Regions from separate parts of the Homo sapiens genome. Here regions 1 and 3 are each linked to region 2. The links are contacts of gene promoters, found by promoter capture Hi-C in blood cells and fetal thymus (Javierre and others, 2016). All regions are on one chromosome and are shown on one strand. Each heading gives the region's core, a stretch centred on a gene start or on the middle of the fragment in contact. The rest is flanking DNA. Distances are from core to core; before and after follow the strand shown.

The links. Contacts are between HindIII fragments. The CHiCAGO score rates a contact against its expected background, and 5 or more counts as called.
Region 1: a fragment that was not itself captured here is called in contact with the fragment with the promoter of ZFAND6 in region 2 in 2 of 17 cell types (megakaryocytes and erythroblasts); the score reaches 6.0 in megakaryocytes.
Region 3: a fragment that was not itself captured here is called in contact with the fragment with the promoter of ZFAND6 in region 2 in 1 of 17 cell types (neutrophils); the score reaches 5.4 in neutrophils.

Annotation. Positions count from the first base shown.
Region 1 is chr15:80,188,777-80,191,476 of GRCh38, forward strand. No RefSeq gene overlaps it. Among named protein-coding and RNA genes, the nearest start is that of FAH, 37 kb to the left of the region's middle. RefSeq lists an enhancer at 557-726. The HindIII fragment of the contact is 5,335 bases long and covers 1-2,700 here.
Region 2 is chr15:80,058,340-80,061,058 of GRCh38, forward strand. ZFAND6 (zinc finger AN1-type containing 6) reads left to right here and starts at 1,337. Exons shown (of 7, transcript NM_019006.4): 1 at 1,337-1,470. RefSeq lists silencers at 1,015-1,343, 1,040-1,909. The HindIII fragment of the contact is 4,474 bases long and covers 1-2,719 here.
Region 3 is chr15:79,843,936-79,846,900 of GRCh38, forward strand. ST20-MTHFS (ST20-MTHFS readthrough) reads right to left here. Exons shown (of 4, transcript NM_001199760.2): 4 at 1-1,507. The coding sequence ends at 1,275. MTHFS (methenyltetrahydrofolate synthetase) reads right to left here. Exons shown (of 3, transcript NM_006441.4): 3 at 1-1,507. The coding sequence ends at 1,275. Among named protein-coding and RNA genes, the nearest start is that of MTHFS, 52 kb to the right of the region's middle. The HindIII fragment of the contact is 8,304 bases long and covers 1-2,965 here.

The sequences.
Region 1 (2,700 bases), core at 72-2,571, 130 kb after region 2:
ACCCAATGGACCTGCCCCAGAGTCTGAAACACACACAGGGCAGAAAGAGCCAGAAACGTTCCTGGCATCAGATTCACTTAAGAAACCAAACTCATGGATGTTAATTCTGGGTCCAGCCTGGGCTTTACTTGGCAATTACTTTTCCTTAATCTTCAGCGACAAGAGCCTCTTTGTTTTACTGTCTCCGACTCCAGAAATGCTCACTGCCAGCCCCACATGACAAGTGACTTTAATGGTCTTTAGTTTTGGAGATCTACTTTATTGAAACCTATCTGTGTGTAATAATATGAAATAGACAAGAATGACTTTCAGGGTCAAATTTCCTCTTTTTGACAGTGATATTTTAAGGACTAGAAGCATTTTGACCAGATGAATGGAGCTTTCAGACGGGATGATGAGCATCTCAAGGCAGGTTGGCCATAGTTATCACTATATCTTCCTTATTAATTTGTATTCCATTTATGCTTCCTGTTTTTAACCAGTGGTCCATTCGGAATATGAATGGATGACTGTGAAACTGAGAGTAGAGTTCATTTGAAACTTTACCTGACCAGGAGGAGTCAGTCCAGAGGTGTTTCTGGCAAGATGGGGCCCACTGCTGGTTTTATTGTAGGGTGGCAAGGGAGCTAGGCTCAGGGGCACGCTACTGCCCGGGGCCAGGGCAGGCACTAGGGGTTCCAGGGGCTGGGAGCCCCTGTCCCTATTGCAGAGGGGACTGGAGGAAGAGAAGCCTTGTTGCCCCCACCATGGGACTTCTCTGTCCTGAGGCCTCTCACACACATTGGTTTACCTTTGAAACACTGTACATTGAGAGCTCTCCTGAGGGTGAGTGTAGACTTGAACCAAGACAATGTTTTTGAGGACAAGGGAACTTTAAGGATTTTTTCTGTTTTTTTGTTTCGTTTTGTTTTTTAATTTTGAGAAAGGGTCTCACTCTGTCACCTAGGCTGGAGTGCAGTGGCACAATCTTGGCTCACTGCAGCCTTGACTTCTCTGGCTCAGGTGATCTTCCCACCTCAGCCTCCCAAGTAGCTGAGACTACAGGTGCACACCACCATGGCCAGGTGATTTTTTGATTTTTTATAGAGACGGGATCTCACTATGTTGCCCAGGCTGGTCTTGAACTCCTGTGCTCAAGTGATCTTCCTGCCTTGCCCTCCCAAAGTCCTGGGATTACAGGCATGACACACCATGCCTGGCAATTTTGGGGTGTAAAGTATCACAATTAATATTATCTCAAAGATTCCTGACACCAAAATGGATCTCAAAAGTGGTTCTATTTTCACATTTTCTCCCTTTCTTTAGTTTGGAAGCATATTCCCTTTAACACCCCCAGAAAAAGTAATTTGGCAGGGTTGTATCCTGAAGTACTAATTTGTTTTCTGTGTATCCCCTCTCTTTCTGTCCTCTCAGCAAGATTTCCAGGGCTGTGGGAGTATTTTGCTCTCCTTCCTCCTGCAGAGAGGCAGAAAGAAACTCGTGGGAGAGGGACCAAGACTGGATGCTTGCTTGCAAGCCTGTTTTTGTTTTTTAAAATTCTGCTCTTGAAAACTAAATAAGGCTGAGGCCAGTCTTATTTTCAGACTGTTTGCCAACAGCACACCAAAAAGTTGGAGTGACAATTTCTTTCTTGGAGAGGGAATGGAGTAGCATGGCACATCTATTCCCACCAAGGTCATGATCCTGGAAATAAATAGACCTTTGTTGTCTATGATGATTTGATCAATATCTGCCTTCATTGGATTTTCAGCTCCTTGAGGATAGTCTGCTTTTGCTTACTGAAAGTTCATCAGTACCTAGCACGTAAGAGCCGCTCGATGTATACTCATTCAGTAAGTGAATGAATTCTAGGAGAGCACTGGGAGCAGATTGTGTCTTATTGATAGGTCTACTTCTAGCATTTGCAGGGCCTAAGCTGAGAGTGCTCATGGAGTCTCAGTATTTAGGAGGTATAAACAAGCTATACACTGTTAAATAAAATACTTTCTATTCTCCTACCTAGATATGTTTGCTTTCATAATTGCAAAACAAACATATTTGCAAAGTGATGGCTTTTATGTGATTGAAAATTGGTAAAATATACAACTAAACTTAATTATCACCGCACTTGAAGAAAGTCGATGGGATGGCAATGTTTGGATGAGCATTAAAGACATAAATTCATGAATTTTATACTTTATACATTTTTAAAATCAGACTTTAATTTTTACAATTATTTTTCTTTCTTTAATTTCATTAGAATCATTAATTATGCTCTCCTGAGCTTTTCATATAATGTGTGGTTTATTGATGATATAAAAGATTAAAAAGTACATTGAATTATACTTCAGTGTACAAGAAGTAAATATCTTCATCAAAACTCTGTGTTAAAAATTGAAAAATTAAATTTTTCATATGCATTTTCAAAGTTAGTTTTCTTTGAAAATATTCAAAATTATTAATAATAAAAAGCGAGATACAAATAATTAAAGAGCTTTAATATTTAATCTCAAAATTCTTTAAATCAAAATGAAATGTCTAAATTCATTTTTTGAAAATGTAATAAAATCTGTTTTTGTTTTGTTTTTTGATATGGGGTCTCACTATGCTGCCCAGGCTGGCCTCAAACTCCTGGGCTCAAGGGATCATCCTGCCTCAGCCATCTGAGTAGCTGGAATTACAAGCCCGTGTCACTGCACCCAGCTCAAAAAAATTAATTAA
Region 2 (2,719 bases), core at 87-2,586:
TCATGTAAACCCAATTTCTGCAAATTCATAATAACTGCATATGAAAATCCAACTGGGTTAGGTGCTGGAGTTAATACAACGATAAACTGGACAAGAATCGGAAGAAAAATACATTTAAGACAAAATCCGTAAGACTTGACGCATAACCTTGCTAGTTCAAGAAGCTCTTTCACACATATTATGTTATTTAACCCCCACAAATAGCCTAACAAGTAGGTTTTATTACCATTCCAATCAGGCTTTTGTCCTCCACTTAAACTGTACTCCCCAAGGTGACTTCTGTGTTGCTAAATGCTCAACAGGTACTCACTTCAGGCACAACATTTAAGGGAGCACCAAAAAACTAAGTGATCAAGATGAATAACATTTTTATTTTTTAAAATTAAAATTAATGCAAAAAAAAAATCCATGAATAACAAAATACCAACATTTAAAATAAAGAGGATTCTCAGGACTGGGCTCGCCTACCTGGATGCCCTAACGGAACTCCTCATTCACAATAGGATTGAATGACCTCGAACTAAAGTGTCACGTACTTCCTGCTCGTGATGCTCGTGAGCCCGAACGAAGGCTGAAAAACTTCAGGGGGAGCCATTCTGCCTATCACCCCTAGTTCCAGCGCAGCAGCCCAGCGTGCACCACGCAGGTGGGAACTGACCCCGTGCTTTTGGAACAGGCTGGAACTGGGGGTGCTTGTGCCTGTGCATGTATGTATTGCACACGTGTGCATGCACGCTTCTCGTCTTGCTTCTATTTCCAAGTCCCAGTTCAGGACAGGGCAGAGAACTGCTTTCCAGTATGCGCCCTGAGCTCGGACTTTGCGCTTGCAGACTGAGGCGCCGGCCTGCATGGGAAGACAGAAGCTCAGAATTCCTTCCTGCACAAGTGGCAGGTGGAGTGCAACTCTTTTTGGTGCCTCAGTCCAAGACAGGGACACGCCATTCCCTGCGAGGTGGCAAAGGTACCTGAACCTACATAACCAAGCCCTTAAAGTCTCCGCGGCACCTCTTAATCGCCTTCCCGTAGCTATTGGAGGTAGAGAAACCGCGGCGGGAAGCGCCCCAGAGAGGGCAGTGGAGCAAGGGACACTGGAGGTGCAGAAGGCGGAGGAGCATCTCCTTTCGCTCCGCCCCGCCTCTTTTCCTGCCTCCGGCCAATTGCCGTGCGCTCCGAGCCTTGACCCCGCCTCTCCCCGCCTCCTCCGGCCTGCGGCCCCGCCCGCGCCGGTAATAATTAGCGGGCGGGCGGGGCCCGCGCGTCAGCCGCGGGAGCCGGCCAATCCAGTGGCTCTCCTCCGCGGTCGCGTCATAGGCCGAACAACCAAACAGAAAAGTTTAATAAACAGCGGACGGAGGGGCCGGCGGTGGCGGAGCCGGAGCAAGCAGGGGTTCGGCGGCATTACCTGTACCCATTCACCGGCGGCTACCGGCGGCGGCGCGCAGCGTGTCAGGCGGAGAGACCCGCCGCCAGGTGAGGAGCGCGGCCCGCGGGGCCCGGCTTGCCCGGCGCTGCCCCTCCCCCGCCTGCTCCCTTCCCCCACCCGGCTGCAGCTAGGCGAGGCCCGCCCCCGGCCCCTCCCGGCGCCCGAGAGCCGGAAGCGGAGGGCGGCCGGCCGGCGCAGCAGGTGGTGGGCCCGCGGGGGCCGCGGGCGAGAGGGCGAGGACTCCCGGCTCCGGGGGTGGGGGCCGGAGATCGGCGGGTTCACCTCAGACGGCGCGCGGGCGCCCGCGGCCGGGGGCCGCTTCCTGTCAGGGTGGTCGCGCTGGGGTCGGGAGCCTCAGTTCTTCAGGGCCGCGGAGGCCGCGACGCGCGCCGCCCCGAGCGGGTTGCGAGCGGTTGGCTGGCGGGGGTCGGAAGGGCCCCGGGCACACTGGGGCGCGTCAGTTCCCCGCCTCCTCCGAGTCTCAGGTCCTCTTCGGGATGTTTTTCCACCTGCGGCGTTTTTCAGAAACCAGCCGGAGGCAGCCCGGTGTCTCCAACTCCTGACTGGCACCGGGAAGGGAATTGGTCTCTTTTTTTCCTGCTTGGGTTTAGCTTGCTTAGGATTCTAAATTTTTTGTCTGCTTTTTTGAAATAGTTATATTTAAGTTTTAGCTACCTAAAAAAGTATGAAAGAATATTGTGTTTGAAATCTTTTTAACTTGGTTTTTAAGTCACGTGCTAACTATCCTACACAGTTGGGACGCTATGATTTACCTTCACATCTCGGAAGTTGTAACCAGTTGTGAGGAAGTTAGGACCTTGGGGTTACCTAAAGATAATTTATATTAAGTTGTTGGGCCATAAAAACTGGGCAGAATTGGCCACGCGCGGTGACTCAACGCCTGTAATCCCAGCACTTTGGGAGGCCGACGCGGACTAATCACGAGGTCAGGAGATCGAGACCATCCTGGCCAACATGGTGAAACCCTGTCTTTACTAAAAATACAAAAATTAGCTGGGTGTGGTGGCGGGCGCCGGTAGTCCCAGCTACTGGGAGGCTGAGGCAGGAGCATCGCTTGAACCCGGGAGGCGGAGGTTGCAGTGAACCAAGATCGCGCTACTGCACTCCAGCCTGGCGACAGAGGGAGACTCCGTCTCAAAAAAAAGCCGGGCAGAATTAATGATTTTGAAGCTCCGAGAAACAGGATTAAATTCCTCTTTCAAACCGAAATCGGAATTTGATTTTTTAAAAGTGTAAAATACCATAAACTTTTAAGGTTAGTTGTTCGGTAACCAT
Region 3 (2,965 bases), core at 163-2,662, 210 kb before region 2:
AGATGAACAACAGAAAGAGCATTTCAGACAGAGAGAAATGCATGCTTACTATGTGCAAAGGGCAGAAGCCTGCAGTGCTCAGTCAGTGTTACAGGAGAATACAGAGTTGGGAGAGAAGAGGCTAGAAAAAGTAGATGAGGAGACCTCTCTTAAGGGGCTTTGTATACAACAGAAGCCATCTGTTTGCTACCCAAGAGGCTCTGAACAGCCACCGGAAGACCTTAGTCAGGGGTGCTGCATGATTAGATTCGTGTTTTCTAAGATCAGTTTGACTGCAGCTTGAGAAATAAACTGGAAGAGGCAAGATGGAAGCCAAGGGAAGCAGGTGTGACACTCTCGCCTAGTCCAGCTTAGAAATGCTAAAAGGCTGGACAAAAGGAGTGACAGGAAAATTGAAAGGAGAGAATAGATTTAAGAGGCATTTCAGAGGCAAAATCAACAAGACCTGGTGACAGGATGGACATGGAGTGTGAGTAAGAGAGCCACGTGACTCCCGGGTTTCTGGAGATGACCAAATCCTCCCCACAACAAAATTATTGCTCCCTAGCTGTGTTGCCATCTGCCAACTTTCAACTCACAGCAAATTTCATTTCCAAAGCAGAAACCATGAGTAAACAGAAATAATTTCTAACTTATAAGATACTAGATCTTAAACTCATCAAGGGCTGATACATGCAGTGATGGTAACCAATCAGTGGAGTAAAAGTATTTAAATCATAAAAGGTTTCCCTCCACTAACCACCAAAAGCTACAAAGTGTCCAACATAAAATTCTAGAGTGGGTAAAGGAAGTCATGATGAAGTGAGATAATATTCTTAGGGAATTCTGTATCCAAAGCAAATACCAACAAATAAATTAATAGTCCCCAAGTCTCCATGTGCCTGCCAGGACAGACCAGGTCATGAAAGGCGTAATGAAATACAGTGCCCACTCCCGCAAGTTTACCTTCCTCTCGCACTCAGTCGGAGCACAGTTCCTCATAAATATTTAACTTAAATTGCAAAGTAGACAGATCAACTTGTCACATTAACACCAGGAAGTTAAGCTGAAAATCACAGGCTGATAGCCTCCATTTTAATTAATATTCTACTATTCACACTTCTATTGGTTTTTAAAGATGGTTTTATATAAGGTATTTCATAATTACAATTTTAAAATGCAGTCTGTATTCACATTAATGAACAATTTCAACTAATTTTTGACAAGGGAAAAATACACATACTTTGCTTTACTCTCATATAAAACACTGATTATTTGGCTGTAGTAATCCAGATTTAAGCTGTTGACGAGTCTTCGTAAAGGACTTCATCTACCTTCATGTCGTTTTCATTCACTGGGACCTGGAGGCAAATCTGTTCTTTGAAAGCCAACGCCAGGGTGTAGGGCTTCACTTCCTGATGCTGCAAACAGCGCTTCAGATAGGCATCATAGTAGCCCTTGCCCCTCCCCAGTCGGTTGCCATGTTTGTCAAACCCAAGGCCTGGCATGAAGATGAGATCAAGTCCCCCTGCGGAAAAGAGGAACAAATTTAAGAGGATTAATTGTTTCTGAAAGATCATTTCAGGATGTGTTTTTTGTTTTGTAATGACATCAATTCTTTCTCTGATTTCTAAAAACAATGTGTGACCATTAATATCCAAAAAGCACAGAGTTGGACAAAAAAGGAAATAAAACGTACTCAGCAACTTAGTTAAGTCTCTTATTCATCCTCAACAGATCTTTTACATATATCTGTACAAAAGTGCCAGATTCCCAGGCCTCATTCATAACTAGTTAAATACAGAGAATCTCCAGAGATAGGGCCCTCTTTTTTCTAGCATCCTGGTGATTCTCCATACCTGTCAGGTTTGGAAATCAATACCCCAGGATAATGACAGTTGGAGGGCGGGAAACAGTCAAGGAGGAGCCATAAAGGACAAAGCTGTTTCTCAGGGTCAGTGAGCAGAAAGAGAGTCCACTGTCAGGCATACCAAGCAGTTCAGACAGCCTACTCCCTCCTCATTTCCCCTCCCATTGGAGAGGCAAGGCCAGGCTGCCGGGCTTCCCCAGACTCGTGTGAGAGCAGGCTTTGACCTACTCAAGGAAAGGTACAAGATGGGGACCCACAACTAGTTCTCTGGCTACAACCCTCTCAAGTAACACGAAGACCAGAACTGGCTATGACATTATCAGGACAGAATGCTGGAGCTCAGGGTGGGAGGCAGGGTCCTGGAGGCTATAAAAACCCAACTGCAGTAAGGGTGTGTGGGGATTCCCATGAAGATGGCAATGAAGGTCACTAGGTGAAGAACCTCCATGAGGGAATGGTACTCCAGCCTCTGGCAAGAAACATGGGGTACCAGTGTCAGCATAAGAGCCACATTACATGTCAAACCCAGTAGTCTGCCCTGTAGCCTCCTTATACTGAGTCTTGGCCTCCTGACAGCTGTCCTGGGGGTTTCTGGGTGACCTATAGCTTAGTTGTGGAATAACCATTCATATAGCATTTGCTGGCAAGATATACCAGGGTTGGAAGCCATGAATTCTCCAGAACAGCATGTTCAGAGTAGAGAGGATCAGACTGCCAACATGGCTAGCCCCCACTATCAGCAGATATTCTGACTACCTGCAGAACTGTGAGGTGAACTCAGCTTCTCTCTAGCTCCCAGCATACACCTGGTCACCCCTGCCTGCCAAAATCCAGCAAAGCATGCCTCAGATTACAGTAATGACCTTCCCCTGTAAACCTCCTTGTCTATTCCAATCCCAACTTTCTAAAAAGGTCCTGGTCACTGACCTCTGTCTTTCCTCCCTGTTCCTGTCCAGCTCATTTGTCCCTCTTGGGATTGACAGTGGACTGTGAATTTGGACTTTACTCCCTCGTGTCCTCTTTCTGTTGCCAGAGCACCATCAGGCTTGAAGTTCAGTTCTGTCTTCTATACCTAGAACACACAATGCGCAAACCTTTCTAAGGATTCCTGCCTCT